Linked DNA regions of Homo sapiens: region 2 is linked to region 1. The links are contacts of gene promoters, found by promoter capture Hi-C in blood cells and fetal thymus (Javierre and others, 2016). All regions are on one chromosome and are shown on one strand. The core of a region is centred on a gene start or on the middle of the fragment in contact, and the rest is flanking DNA. Distances in the headings are between cores, read along the strand shown. Region 1 holds the start of DNASE2 (deoxyribonuclease 2, lysosomal). Region 2 overlaps LOC124904638 (a long non-coding RNA gene).

The links. Contacts are between HindIII fragments. The CHiCAGO score rates a contact against its expected background, and 5 or more counts as called.
Region 2: a fragment that was not itself captured here is called in contact with the fragment with the promoter of DNASE2 in region 1 in 1 of 17 cell types (M0 macrophages); the score reaches 5.5 in M0 macrophages.

Annotation. Positions count from the first base shown.
Region 1 is chr19:12,877,837-12,885,112 of GRCh38, reverse strand. It overlaps DNASE2 (deoxyribonuclease 2, lysosomal), which reads left to right and starts at 3,664. Exons shown (of 6, transcript NM_001375.3): 1 at 3,664-3,823; 2 at 3,961-4,141; 3 at 4,233-4,311; 4 at 6,279-6,443; 5 at 6,534-6,731. The coding sequence starts at 3,738. It overlaps KLF1 (KLF transcription factor 1), which reads left to right. Exons shown (of 3, transcript NM_006563.5): 3 at 53-691. The coding sequence ends at 228. RefSeq lists cis regulatory regions at 1-102, 982-1,502, 2,042-2,542, 3,282-3,842 and enhancers at 1-178, 1,051-1,312, 3,737-3,846, 3,506-4,133. The HindIII fragment of the contact is 8,211 bases long and covers 695-7,276 here.
Region 2 is chr19:11,579,345-11,586,164 of GRCh38, reverse strand. It overlaps LOC124904638 (a long non-coding RNA gene), which reads right to left. Exons shown (of 2, transcript XR_007067140.1): 2 at 2,501-2,748. It also overlaps the pseudogene GAPDHP76. Among named protein-coding and RNA genes, the nearest start is that of ACP5, 5.1 kb to the right of the region's middle. RefSeq lists enhancers at 2,071-2,130, 2,141-2,280, 4,182-4,381 and a silencer at 3,881-4,046. The HindIII fragment of the contact is 1,557 bases long and covers 4,245-5,801 here.

The DNA.
Region 1 (7,276 bases), core at 2,415-4,914:
CCGGGGACATGACTGGGCAGACAGTGGCGCTTATGGCTTCCTTGTCCCCTAGGGGAGAAGCCATACGCCTGCACGTGGGAAGGCTGCGGCTGGAGATTCGCGCGCTCGGACGAGCTGACCCGCCACTACCGGAAACACACGGGGCAGCGCCCCTTCCGCTGCCAGCTCTGCCCACGTGCTTTTTCGCGCTCTGACCACCTGGCCTTGCACATGAAGCGCCACCTTTGAGCCCTGCCCTGGCACTTGGACTCTCCTAGTGACTGGGGATGGGACAAGAAGCCTGTTTGGTGGTCTCTTCACACGGACGCGCGTGACACAATGCTGGGTGGTTTTCCCACGAATGGACCCTCTCCTGGACTCGCGTTCCCAAAGATCCACCCAAATATCAAACACGGACCCATAGACAGCCCTGGGGGAGCCTCTTACGGAAAATCCGACAAGCCTTCAGCCACAGGGAGCCACACAGAGATGTCCAAACTGTCGTGCAAACCCAGTGAGACAGACCGCCAAATAAACGGACTCAGTGGACACTCAGACCAGCTCCCAGATGGCCCTGGACAGCAGGAGAGGGTGTGGGATGAGGCTTCCCAGAGACCCTGGGTCTAGAAAGCGGCTCCTGAAGGTCCCTTATTGTGGCTGATATTAACTGTCAATGGTTATGGGTCCTATAAAAATGCCCCTCCCAGATAAAGCTTCAGCGTTGGCCTGAATTTTTGGGTTTTGGAGGCTGGAAGATGGCAGGAGGCTGTAAACCTAGAGGTCATATTAGAGGGCCTTACACACCCTCATCTCCTAAACTACAGTGACACCCCTCAACTCCAACAAGCCCCCTTGGGCACTGGAGGCCTTGCTGTCCTCTCTTTTCCCACCCAGTTCAGGCTACACTGTCCTTGTCTTCTGCCTTGAACCCTGCGGACATTGACAGCAAACATCTCCCTGGATTTAAGAGTTCACAGCCTATGACTGCCCAGGGGGTTCATCTTGCCCACTGTCCAGATAGAGCCAATTTATCGAGACAGAGGGATTGCAATAGAGAGAGTTTAATCCACATACATCCAGCTAAATGGGAGATGGGAGTTTTATTACTTGAATCAGCCTCCCTGAAAATTCAGAGGCTAGGGTTATTCAAGAACAGTTTGGTGGGCAGGAGGGCTAGGGAATGGGTGCCTTGCTGCAATCCTGGAGCTGTGGAAAACAGTTGCTGAGTCAGCTTCTGGGTGGGGACCATAGAGTCGCTAGTCTGGGTGGAGTCATCCAGTTGTCAGATATGCAAAAAGCCTAAAAAGACATCTAAAAAGGCCAGCGTTAGGTTTTGCAATAGTCATGTTATTTGCAGAAATAACTGGGGAAGTTGCAAACCTTGTGACCTCCAGAATAATGGCTGGCCATCTTTGTTTTTGTTTTTGAGATGGAGTCTTGCTCTTGCCCAGGCTGGAGTGCAGTTGTTCCATCTTGGCTCACTGCAACCTCTGCCTCCTGGGTTCAAGTGATTCTCCTGTGTCAGCCTACCAGGTAGCTAGGATTACAGGCACATGCCACCATGCCGGGCTAATTTTTGTATTTTTAGAAGAGATGGGGTTTCGAAATGCTGGCCAGGCTGGTTTCGAAATCCTGACCTCAGGTAATCTGCCAGCCTCGGCCTCTCAAAGTGCTGGGATTACAGGCGTGAGGCACCGCACCCGGCCGGAAAAATGGCTGGTCATAATTTAACTACTACACCTACAGTTTAGCAGAATTCAGGCTCCTCTCATCCTCCTAACCTAGTGCCCTTTCATTATTTCTACAAAGGCAGTTTAGTTTGGGGAAGGGCTATTATCATTTAAGCTATAAACTAAATTCCTCCCAAAATTAGCTTGGGGCCAGGCATGGTGGCTCCCTCTTTAATCCCAGCAATTTGGCAGGCTGAGGCGGGCAGATCACTTGAGCCCAGGAGTTCGACACCAGCCTGAGCCCCAAGGTGAAACCCCATCTCTACCAAAAATGGTGAAACCCAGTCTCTACCAAAAATACAAAAATTAGCTGGGCATGTGGCGCATGCCTGTAATCCCAGCTACTCAGGAAGCTGAGGCAGGAGGATTGCTTGAACCTAGGAGGCGGATGTTGCAGTGAGCTGAGATCACACCACTGGACTCCAGCCTGGGCGACAGAGTGAGACAACGTGTCAAAAAAAAAAAAAAAGTTAGCTTGACCCCACTCCAGGAATGACCAAGCAAGGGCAGTTTGGAGATTAAAGGCAAGATGGAGTTGGTTAGGTCAGAGCTCTTTCACTGACATAATTTTCTGTCATAATTTTTGCAAAGGCAGTTTCAAGCCAGTACTCAGATTCCCATAGCCCTTTGCCCTGCCATGATCCTTTGAGGCTGAGGTGGGAGAATCACTTGAACCCCGGAGTTCCAGAGCAGCCTGGGCAACATAGTGAGACCCTCATCTCTGCAATGAACAATTATCTGGGTGTGGTGGCACAGGCCTGTAGTACCAGCTACCTGGGAAGATCTCTTGAGCCCAGTAGGTTGAGGCTGCAGTGAACTGTGATGGAGTCACTGCATTCTAGCCTGGGTGAGAAACCATTATCCTGTCTCAAAACGACAAAAAACAAACATACAGTCACCTCTTTGCTAGCTCAGGGGATCCTGGAGAAAACGTGCAGAATGAAAAAGGAGAGTCTGGGTGGCGTGGATTACATGCCTGTAATCCCAGCACTTTGGGAGGCAAGACAGGTGGATCCCTTGAGCTCAGGAGTTCAGCCTGAGCCACATGGTGAAACCGTGTTTCAAAAAAAAAACTACAAAAATTAGCTGGGCATAGTGGCATGTGCCCGTGATCCCAGCTACTCGGGAGGCTGAGGTGAGAGGATCACTTGAGCTGGGGAGGCAGAGGTTGCAGTGAGCCAAGATTGCGCCACTGCACTCCGGCCTGGGCAACAGAGCGAGATATTGTCCGGGAAAAAAAAAAAAAAAAAAGGAAGGAAAAAAAAAAAGAAAGAAAAAGGGGAAGATACACTGGAACACAAATGCTTCTTAAGGGGCGCAGTGGCTCACTTCTGCAATCTTGGCACTTTCGGGGGCCGAGGCTGGTGGATCACGAGGTCAGGAGTTCGAGACCAGCCTAGTCAACATGGAAAAACCCCGTCTCTACTAAAACTACAAAAATTAGCCGGGCGTGGTGTCGGGCGCCTGTAATCCCAGCTACTCGGGAGGCTGAGGCAGGATAATCGCTTTAATCAGGAAGGCGGAGGTTGCAGTGAACCGAGATCGTGCCATTGCACTCCAGCCTGGGCGACAAGAGTGAAACTCCGTCTCAAAAAAAAAAAAAAAAAAAAAAAAAAAAAAAGAGGAAGAACAAAGGTCCCAAGAGTTGGACCCAGGTTGTAGGGCTGGAATAAAAAATAAAATACAAACTTGTGCCTGATCCAGAAACCCGGGCGGGAGTTGGGTCAGACAGAAGAGCGTGGGCTGGGATTAGCTACCACGAAAAGGAACGGTGGCCAGGCTCCAGGAGACGCTGGAGCGCCGGGCCCGTCGTGGGCGTGGTCTGGGCAGACTCAGCGTTGCCTTTTGCCTCTCCAAAACGCAGCATCGCGTCTCGGGGGAGGAGTCTGTACCCTCGTGATGTCCCCGCCCCGGTTCCCAGGCAAGTTTAGGGAAGTGAAAGGCGCCAGGTGCCAGTCCTGGCCTCTGATGTAACCCAGCGCCCCGCAGTCCCGACACAGATTCCTGGATCTCAGCCCCATAGCAGCTATGATCCCGCTGCTGCTGGCAGCGCTGCTGTGCGTCCCCGCCGGGGCCCTGACCTGCTACGGGGACTCCGGGCAGCCTGTAGACTGGTGAGTGCGCAGCGGGGGGCCTACCATCGCCCCGGGGTCCGGCTGCGGTCACTCAACCGGGATGGCTACCTCCTCGGGGAACCCTGGGGTGCCTTCTCTTCCCTCTCTCCTATTTCTGTGCATTCTCCGACCTCCAGGTTCGTGGTCTACAAGCTGCCAGCTCTTAGAGGGTCCGGGGAGGCGGCGCAGAGAGGGCTGCAGTACAAGTATCTGGACGAGAGCTCCGGAGGCTGGCGGGACGGCAGGGCACTCATCAACAGCCCGGAGGGGGCCGTGGGCCGAAGCCTGCAGCCGCTGTACCGGAGCAACACCAGCCAGGTGAAGGGGGCCCCGGGCCAACTAGGGGCGAAACTCTAGGGCTGCCCTGCCTGGGAGGAATTTCACGTTGCCTCCGTTTATCCGCCCGCAGCTCGCCTTCCTGCTCTACAATGACCAACCGCCTCAACCCAGCAAGGCTCAGGACTCTTCCATGCGTGGGCACACGAAGGGTGAGGCCTGGATTGGGGGCTGGGGAGAGACTCGGGTCCCATTTTTCCAAGGTAACCCCTGACGTGCATGGGGTGGTCGGGGAGATCTGCACTGTCAGACCCTGGGCATCTATTCCCCCCAACTTTTTTTTTTCTTTGTTTTTGAGACGGTGGGAGTTCGCTCTGTCACCCAAGCTGGAGTGCAGTGGCACAATCTTGGCTCACTGCAATCTCTGCCTCTGGGGTTGAAGCAATTCTCCTGTCTCAGCCTCCCAAGTAGCTGGTATTAAAGGCGCACCATCACACCAGGCTAATTTTCATATTTTTAGTACAGACGAGGTTTCACCATGTTGGCCAGGCTGGTCTCGAACTCCTGGTTTCTACCTCAAGTGATCTACCCGCCTTGGCCTCCCAAAGTGCTGGGATTACAGGAATGAGCCACCCTGCCCAGCCGAGTTCCTATGCATTTTTCCAAGCTAACCCCTGACCTCCATAGTGGGGTGGGAGATCTCCCCTGTCAGACCTTGGGCATCTATTTCCCCTATTTTATTTTCTTTTAGACAAGGTCTCACCCAGTCACCTAGGCTGGAGTGCAGTATCACAGCTCACTGCAGCCTTGACCTCCCAGGGCTCAGGTGATCCTCCTACCTCAGCCTCCCAAGTACTGGGCCTGCCGGTACCCCCCACCACGCCTGGCTTTTTTTTTTTTTTTTTTTTTTTGCGGCACTCTCTCTCCATCACCCAGGCTGGAGTTCGGTGGTGCAATCTCAGCTCACTGCAATCTCCATCTCCCCAGTTCAAGCGATTCTTCTGCCTCAGCCTCTGGAGTAGCTGGGATTACAGGTGTGCGCCACCATGCCCAGCTAAATGTTGTATGTTTTAGTAGAGATGGGGTTTTACCAGGTTGGACAGGCTGATATTGAACTCCTGACCTCAGGTGATCCACCTGCCTTGGCCTCCCAAAGTGCTGGGATTACAGGCGTGAGCCACCACACCTGGCCTACTTTTTGTATTTTTGTAGAGTGGGCTTTTGCCATGTTGCCTAGGCTGGTCTCTAAGTCCTGGTTCAAGCAATCCACCCACCTTGGCCTCTTAATGTGCTGCGATTACCGGCATGAGCCGCCACACCTGGCCTGTTTCCCTACCTTACATTACTCTTGGCGTTATTCTGGACTATAAGAATTTATGCCTGCAAAAACTGAGCTCAGCTGTGGTTCTAACACTGCTGGCACCCTCTCTAAGCCCCGCTGCAAACTGAGGGTGTTCCTGATTGCAGATGAGCTTGCTGGGAGGCCTGGAGCAATACCCTCTAATTGCCTTTTTTTTTTTTTTTTTTTTGAGAAGGAGTTTTGCTCTTGCTACCCAGGCTGGAGTGCAATGGTGCAATCTCGGCTCACTGCAACCTCCGCCTCCTGGGTTCAAGTGATTCTCCTGCATCAGCCTCCCGAGTAGCTGGGATTACAGGCATGCACCACCATGCCCGGCTAATGTTGTATTTTTAGTAGTGATGAGGTTTCTCCATGTTGGCCAGGCTGGTCTTGAACTCCCGACCTCAGGTGATCCGCCCTCCTCGGCTTCCCAAAGTGCTGGGATTACACTGCGTGGGGCCTGCCTTCTTTTTTTAAATTTTTATTTATTTATTTATTTATTTATTTATTTACTTACTTACTTACTTATGTTTGAGATGAAATTTTGCTCTGTGGCCCAGGCTGGAGTGCAGTGGTGGATCTCAGCTCACTGCAACCTCCACCTCCTGGGTTCAAGCGATTCTCCTGCCTCAGCCTCCTGAGTAGCTGGGATTACAGGCGTCCACCACCACGCTCAGCTAATTTTTGTATTTTTAGTAGAGATGGGGTTTCGCCATGTTGGCCAGGCTGATTTCTAACTCCTGACCTCAGGTGATCTGTGTGTCTCGGTCTCCCAAAGTGCTGGGATTACAGGCGTGAGCCACTGCGCCCGACCTCCCCTAATGCCTTCTTTTGGTCCAGGTGTCCTGCTCCTTGACCACGATGGGGGCTTCTGGCTGGTCCACAGTGTACCTAACTTCCCTCCACCGGCCTCCTCTGCTGCATACAGCTGGCCTCATAGCGCCTGTACCTACGGGCAGACCCTGCTCTGTGTGTCTTTTCCCTTCGCTCAGTTCTCGAAGATGGGTAAGTCGAGTCAGGGACACAGGATGAGTCCTGGGTTTACTGACCAGAACCTGGAACGATCTTGCATTTCCTCCTCCCCTTGTCCTCCAGGCAAGCAGCTGACCTACACCTACCCCTGGGTCTATAACTACCAGCTGGAAGGGATCTTTGCCCAGGAATTCCCCGACTTGGAGAATGTGGTCAAGGGCCACCACGTTAGCCAAGAACCCTGGAACAGCAGCATCACACTCACATCCCAGGCCGGGGCTGTTTTCCAGAGCTTTGCCAAGTTCAGCAAATTTGGAGATGGTGAGTCTCAAGGTTGAGGGTTGGAGAGCTCCTTCTCTGCAGACAGGGTGACTGGTGTGGCCATGGCTGAGTTCAAGTCAGCGGTAGAGACCAGGTCTGTTTGGGAGCTATAATCACATGATCAGTGAACAGACCTGGGTTCAAACCCTGGGTTTTGCTGTGTGATGTATAACTTCACCTGAGCCTTGGTCTACTCATCTGAAAAATGGGGATACTGACATCTACTTAAAAAATTGTGAATGAAGTGGTACCTGTAAGTCATTTGGGTGCCAGAGGTGGTGCCTCACTCCTGTAATCCCAGTTACTTAGGAGGCTGAGGCAGGAGGATCATTTGAAGACAGGCATCCAAGACAAGCCTGGGAAACATAGCAAGACCTCATCTCTACAAAATTAAAAATTAGCCAAGCAACTTGGGAGGCTGAGGCAGGAGGATAAATTGAGCCCAGAGTTTCAGACTGCAGTGAGCTATAATGACTCCACTGCACTCCAGCCTGGGTGACAGAGCAAGACCCTGTCTTTATTTAAAAATAAATAAATAGGCTGGG
Region 2 (6,820 bases), core at 3,774-6,273, 1.3 Mb after region 1:
TAGCTGGGACTACAGATACACCCCACCATGCCTGGATAATTTTTTTAAACTTTTTGTAGAGACAGAGTCTTGCTATGTTGGCCAGGCTGGTCTTGAACTCCTAGGCTCAAGTGATCCTCCAACCGCAGCTTCCCAAAGTGTTGGGATTACAGGCATGAGTCACTGCACCTGGCCTCCATCCCTATTTAAAACAAAAAAAGAAAAAAGAAAGAAAGAAAACCAAACCAAACCAAAAAAAAACGTTGTCACGGATGACCTTGGCCGGAGGGTAAGCAGTTGGTGGTGCAGGAGGCATTGCTGACGATCATGAGGTTTTTGTATCTCTCATGGTTCATGTCCATCACAAACATGGGGGCATGGGCAGAGGGGGCAGAGATGGTGATCCCTTTGGCTGCCCATCCTAAGCGAGCCCCAGCCTTCCCCATGGTCGTGAAGATGCTGCTGGTGGACTCCATGACATAACCAGTGCCAGCATCGTCACCCAATTTGATTTTGCTGGGATCTGGCTTCTAGAAGATGGGGATGAGATTCCCATTTCCTATTGATGACAAGCTTCCCTTCTCTTTCTCAGTCTTTTCTTTTCTTTTTTTTTTTTTTTAAGAGAGAGAGGATCTCCCTATGTTGCCTAGGCTGGTCCTGAACTCCTGGTCTCAAGTGATCCTCCCACCTCAACCTCCTAAGTAGCTGAGATTACAAGCATGAGCCACCACACCCAGCCCACTTCTCAGCTTTGATGGTGCCGCGGAACTTGCCGTGGGTAGAATCATATTGGAACATGTAGACCATGTAGTTGAGGTCAATGAAGGGGTCATTGAGGTGACAACATCCATTCTGCCAGAGTTAAAAGCAGCTCTGGTGCCCTGGTGACCAGGCACCCAATATGGCCAAATCCATTTACTCCTGTCTTCACTTTCACCACGGTGTCTCGGGGACATGCCTTTTTCACTGCATGAAAAGATGTGGCTGTCTGTCAAATGGGAGGAGCAGAGAGGCTCTGCCTTTTTAATCTTTAAGAAAAAAAATTCAGGCTGGGCATGGTGGCTCACGCCTGTAATCCCAGCACCTTGGGAGGCCAAGGCAGGCGGATCACAAGGTCAGGAGATCCAGACCATCCTTACTAACATGGTGAAACCCCGTCTCTACTAAAAAATACAAAAAATTAGCTGGGCGTGGTGGCGGGCACCTGTAGTCCCAGCTACTTGGGAGGCTGAGGCAGGAGAATGGCGTGAACCCGGGAGGCGGAGCTTGCAGTGAGCCAAGATCGCGCCACTGCACTCCAGCCTGGGTGATGGAGCAAGACTCTGTCTCAAATAATAATAATAATAATAATTTAGATGGGGTCTCACTGTGTCACCCAGGCTTGTCTCAAACTCCTGGGCTCCAGTGATCCACCCACCTCAACCTCCCAAAGTGCTGGGATTACAGGTGTGAGCCACCACACCCGGCCTATTATTATTATTTGAGACAGTCTTGCTCTTGTCGCCCAGGCTGGAGTGCAGTGGCACGATCTTGGCTCACTGCAACCTCTGCTTCCCGGGTTCAAGCGATTCTCCTGCCTCAGCCTCCCGAGTAGCTGGGATTACAGGTGGCTGCCACCACGCCCAGCTAATTTTTTTTGTATTTTTAGTAGAGATGGGGTTTCACCTTGTTGGTCAGGCTGGTCTCAAACACCTGACCTCAGGTGATCCGCCCACCTCAGCCTCCCAAAGTGCTGGGATTACAGGCGTGAGCCACTGCTCCTGGCCCTGTCTTTTAATTTTTAAAGGGTAGGGGGCACCATGACCCATCTTTGCCCACCTAAACCACCTATTCAGCAGCCCATGCCCCGCAGCCCACAGCTGGGGGACATCATGCAAAATCTAAGTCAGATCTGTCCCTCTGATCAGAACCCTCTGTGGCTCCCACCTTACCCAGATAAAAGCCCCCTTCCCTGCAGCCCCCAAGAGCACACGCAACCTGCCCCACCCACACCCTTCTCTGTTCCTTGCCCTTGACCTTGCAGACTCAACCTTCCGGATTCACTTCCCCCTTGCTCACTCTGCTCCAGCCACAAAAGCCAATTTTTGGTTCCTCAAATCAAACTAACTCATGACAGCATTTTGAATTTTGAAGCCTTGGGGCCCCGAAAAAGTCCATCTTTTTTTTTTTTTTTTAAGATCGAGTCTCACTGTGTTGCCCAGGCTGGAGTGCGGTGGTGTGATCTCGACTCACTGCAACCTCTGCCTCCCTGGTTCAAGCAATTCTCCGGCCTCAGCCTCCCAAGTAGCTGGGATTACAGGTGCTCGCTGCCATGCCCAGCTAATTTTTTTGTATTTTAGTAGAGAAAGGGTTTCACCTTGTTGCCTAGGCTGATCTTGAACTCCTGAACTCAGGCAATCTGTCTGCCTCAGCCTCCCAAAGTGCTGGGATTACAGGCGTGAGCCACTGCGCCCGGCCCAAAAATCCATCTTTGTGGGTTCCTTTGTAAATGTGTAGTCAATTTAGAAATTTAGAAACACGGTTTCCCTTAAGCCTTTATTTAGTTACAATCACAACTAACATGTTACTTATACACCTGGCAAAGTGAAACATCAAAAAATTAATTCAGGGCCTGGCCTCAGGCCTGTAATCCCAGCACTTTGGGATGCCAAGGCAGACGGATCACTTGAGGTCAGGAGAATCGCTTGAACCTGGGAGACGGAGGTTGGGACGAGCTGAAGATCACACCACTGCGCTCCAGCTTGGGTGACAGAGTGAGTGAGACTCCATCTCAACAAAAAGAAAAAGAAATATCACTTTAAGAGGTCATTGGATGCATATTTGGGTCCGTTTATAAGTTTAGTGGATTGAAATTAACATTTTACATTTTATAAGTGTGATGCATTTTATTCTATACTCTTTTACTACTATAATAATAATTATTATTATTAATTTTTTTTTTGAGATGGAGTCTCGCTCTGTCACCCAAGCCGGATGGAGTGCAGTGGCGCGATCTTGGCTCACTGCAAGCTCCACCTCCCAGGTTCATGCCATTCTCCTGCCTCAGCCTCCCGAGTAGCTGGGACTACAGGCGCCCACCACCACGCCCAGCTAATTTTTTTGTATTTTTAGTAGAGACGGGGTTTCACCGTGTTAGCCATGTTGCTCTCGATCTCCTGACCTCGTGATCCGCCCGCCTCGGCCTCCCAAAGTGATGGGATTACAGGCGTGAGCCACTGCGCCCGGTCAATTATTATTATTTTTTAGAGACAGTGTATCAGCTCTGTCACCCAGACTGGAGTGCAGTGGTGCAATCATGGCTCACTGCAGCCTCGACCTCCTGAGCAATGCTCCCACCTCAGCCTCCTGAGTAGCTGGGCTACAGGTGCACACAACCACGCCCAGCTAATTTTATTTTTAAGAGATGAGGTCTCTACAAAAAGTGTTGGGATGACAGGTGTGAGCCACTGTGCCAGCTTATTCTTTAATCTTTTAATTTATTATTATTATTTTTTGAGACAGAGTCTTGCTCTACCACCCAGGCTAGAGTGCAATGGTGCGATCTCAGCTCACTGCAACCTCTGCCTCCCGGGTTCAAGCGATTCTCCTGCCTCAGCCTCCTGAGTAGCTGGGACTACAGGCACGTGCCACCACACCCAGGTAATTTTTTGTATTTATAGTAGAGATGGGGTTTCACCATGTTAGCCAGGATGGTCTCGATCTCCTGACCTCTTGATCCACCCGCCTCGGCCTCCCAAAGTGCTGGGATTACAGGCATGAGCCACTGCACCTGGCCTATTCTTTAATCTTTTTAAATGTCTCCACCAAGCAAACACCTTGAGAAGTCCTTATCAGTTATTAAAAATCTACAATGCAAACATACAAATAAAAGGAGAACAGTAAGTTCTCTTAAACATTCTGATACTACTTCTAAACTTAGCCAATAAACTGAGAATGAATGTTAATTTTTTAAATAAACAGGCCAGGGGCAGTGGTTCACACCTGTAATCCCAGCACTTTGAGGGGCTGAGTTGGGAGGATTGCTTGAACTCAGGAGTTCAAGAGCAGCCTGGACAAGGTGACAAATCCCTCTCTCTACAAAAAATACAAAAATTAGCTGGGTGTGGTGGTGTGTGCCTGTAGTCTCAATCCCCAGGAGGCCAAGGGGTGTGGGAGGATCCCCTGAGCCCAGAAGGTCGAGTCTGCAGTGAGCCGTGATCGCATCACTGGTCTCCAGCCTGGGTGACTCTGTTTTAGAAAAAGAAAAAAGAAAGAAAAAAAAAGCTTTCATTAACTGAAGACAGACTGAAAGCAAGAGAAACTGAAAGCAAGATAAATGAGTGGGTGGTTTTCTCAAGCACTGGTAAGTGCTGCAGAGAAAACTACAGCAACAGGAGAGTCAATGATGGGGGCAGGGTGGTGCATTTCAGATAATTTCAGATAAATTATCTTTTTCTTTTTTTTTTTTTTTTTTTGAGACAGAGTCTCACTCTGTCACCCAGGCTAGAGTACAGTGGCACGATCTTGGCTCACTGCAACCTCCGCCTCCCAGGTTCAAGCAATTCTCCTGCCTCGACCTCCTGAGTAGCTGGGACCACAGGTTTGTGCCACCACGCCCAGCTAATTTCTGTATTTTTAGTAGAGATGGGGTTTCACCATGTTGGCCAGGCTGGTCTCGAACTCCTGGCCTCAAGTGATCCACCCGGCTTGGCTTCCCAAAGTGCTGGGATTACAGGCGTGAGCCACCACGCCCAGACTCATTTCAGATAAATTAAAGGAACTTGAACACAATGGGTGACCTCAGTATCTGACTAAGGAAGACCCTTCCAGGCAGGGAGAACAGAAAGTGCCAAGACCCTGAGGCCAGAGTGTATCTGAGACAGTCAAGCAATGCGGAGGAGGTCAGAGGAGCAAGAAACAGGGAAAGCAGGATTGGCAGGAGGAAGGAAGGGAAGGGATTGGGTAGAGACAGCAGCGGAGAACAGGACCTGGATGTATTGGCAACAGGAGGAACTCACTCGTGGGGTTGTTGACATCTGAGATTGACACTGGTGTTGGGAAAATAGGAAAGGGTGGAGGTGGAGGGAGATTCTGAGTCACAGCCTGATCTAGCTCCACAGAAAATCAGCAGAAGAGAGTTCTCCTGGGTGAATGGAGAGAGAAGAGCTTATTCAGCACCCTGGAGGAGACCAGAGAGAGATAGCCAAGAACGCACAGGTTTTATTACATGCTCTGTGCAAGATCAGGTTTATTTTTTTCATTGTGCTCTCTCTCTCTCTCTCTCTCTCTCTCTGAGACAAGAGTCTAGCTGTGTTGCCCAGGCTGAAGGTCAGTGGTGCATTCGTAGCTTATTGCAGCCTCAAACTCCCAGGCTCAAGCGATCCTCCACCTCAGCTTCCTGAGTAGATGGAACCACAGGTGTGCACCACCATGCCTGGCTAATTTTTTTTTTTTTTTTTTTTTTTTTTGTAGCAATGTGGTCTCGCCACGATGCCCAGGCTGTTCCTGAACTCCCGGGCTCAAGCGATCCTCCCACATTGGCTGGGTTTACAGGCCTGAGCCACCATGCTTGGCCAGCTTTTTCAATTTAAAAAATATAGAAAGTGTTAATACAAATTAAAAAGTTATAAAATAGTGCCAATAGTATCCCATTTTTCCGAAGACAAACATAGGCAGAGAAAAATTAATGGATACTGTCTCTCTGGGCAGGGGTATTACTGGCTATTATAATCTTTTTCTTCGTGCATTCCAGAATTTACCAACTTTTCTACAAAGATCATGTAGCACAATAAGATAATAAACATAATTTTGTGTGATCTCAAAATACAGGAAGCATAGAAGCTTCCAAAACACGCCTGTACCCACCACGTGAAGAAACAGATGTTAACATTTGGTCATAATTGCTTCAGATTTCTTTCTTTTTTTTTTTTTCTGTTTTTTTTTTGGGGGGGACAGAGTCTTGCTCTGTCGCCCAGGCTGGAATGTAGTGGCATGATATTGGCTCAGTGCAACCTCCTCCTCCTGGGTTGGAGTGCAGTGGCATGATCTCAGTTCACTGCAACCTCTGCCTCCTGGGTTCAAGAGAGCACCTCCAGCTAATTTTTGTCTTTTTAGTAGAGACAAGGTTTTGCCATGTTGCCCAGGCTGGTCTGGAACACCTGACCTCAAGTGATCCGCTCACCTCGGCCTCCCAAAGTGCCAGGATTACAGGTGTGAGACACCACACCGGCTAAATAATAAGTTTTTAAAAAAACAGGAGACTGGCCAGGCATGGTGACTCACGCCTGTAATCGCAGAACTTTGGGAGGCTGAGGTGGGCAGATCACCTGAGATCGGGCATTGGAGACCAGCCTGGCCAACATGGAGAAACCCCGTCTCTACTAAAAATACAAAATTAGCCGGGCGTGGTGGTGCGTGCCTGTAATCACAGCTACTAGGGAGGCTGAGGCAGGAGAATCGCTTGTACCCGGGAGGCGGAGGTTGCGTGAGCCAAGATTGCGCCACTGCACTCCAGCCTGGGCAACCAGAATAAAACTGTCTCAAAAAAAAAAAAAACAAAAACAGGCCGGGCGCGGTGGCTCACGCCTGTAATCCCAGCACTTTGGAAGGCCAAGGTGGGTGGATCACGAGGTCAGGAGATCGAAACCATCCTGGCTAACACGGTGAAACCCCGTCTCTACTAAAAAATACAAAAAATTAGCCGGGCGCGGTGGCGGCGCCCGTAGTCCCAGCTACTCGGGGGTGCTGAGGCAGGAGAATGGCGAGAACCCGGGAGGCAGAGCTTGCAGTGAGCCGAGATCGCGCCACTGCAGTCCGGCCTGGGTGAAAGAGCGAGACTCTGTCTCAAAAAAAAAAAAACCAA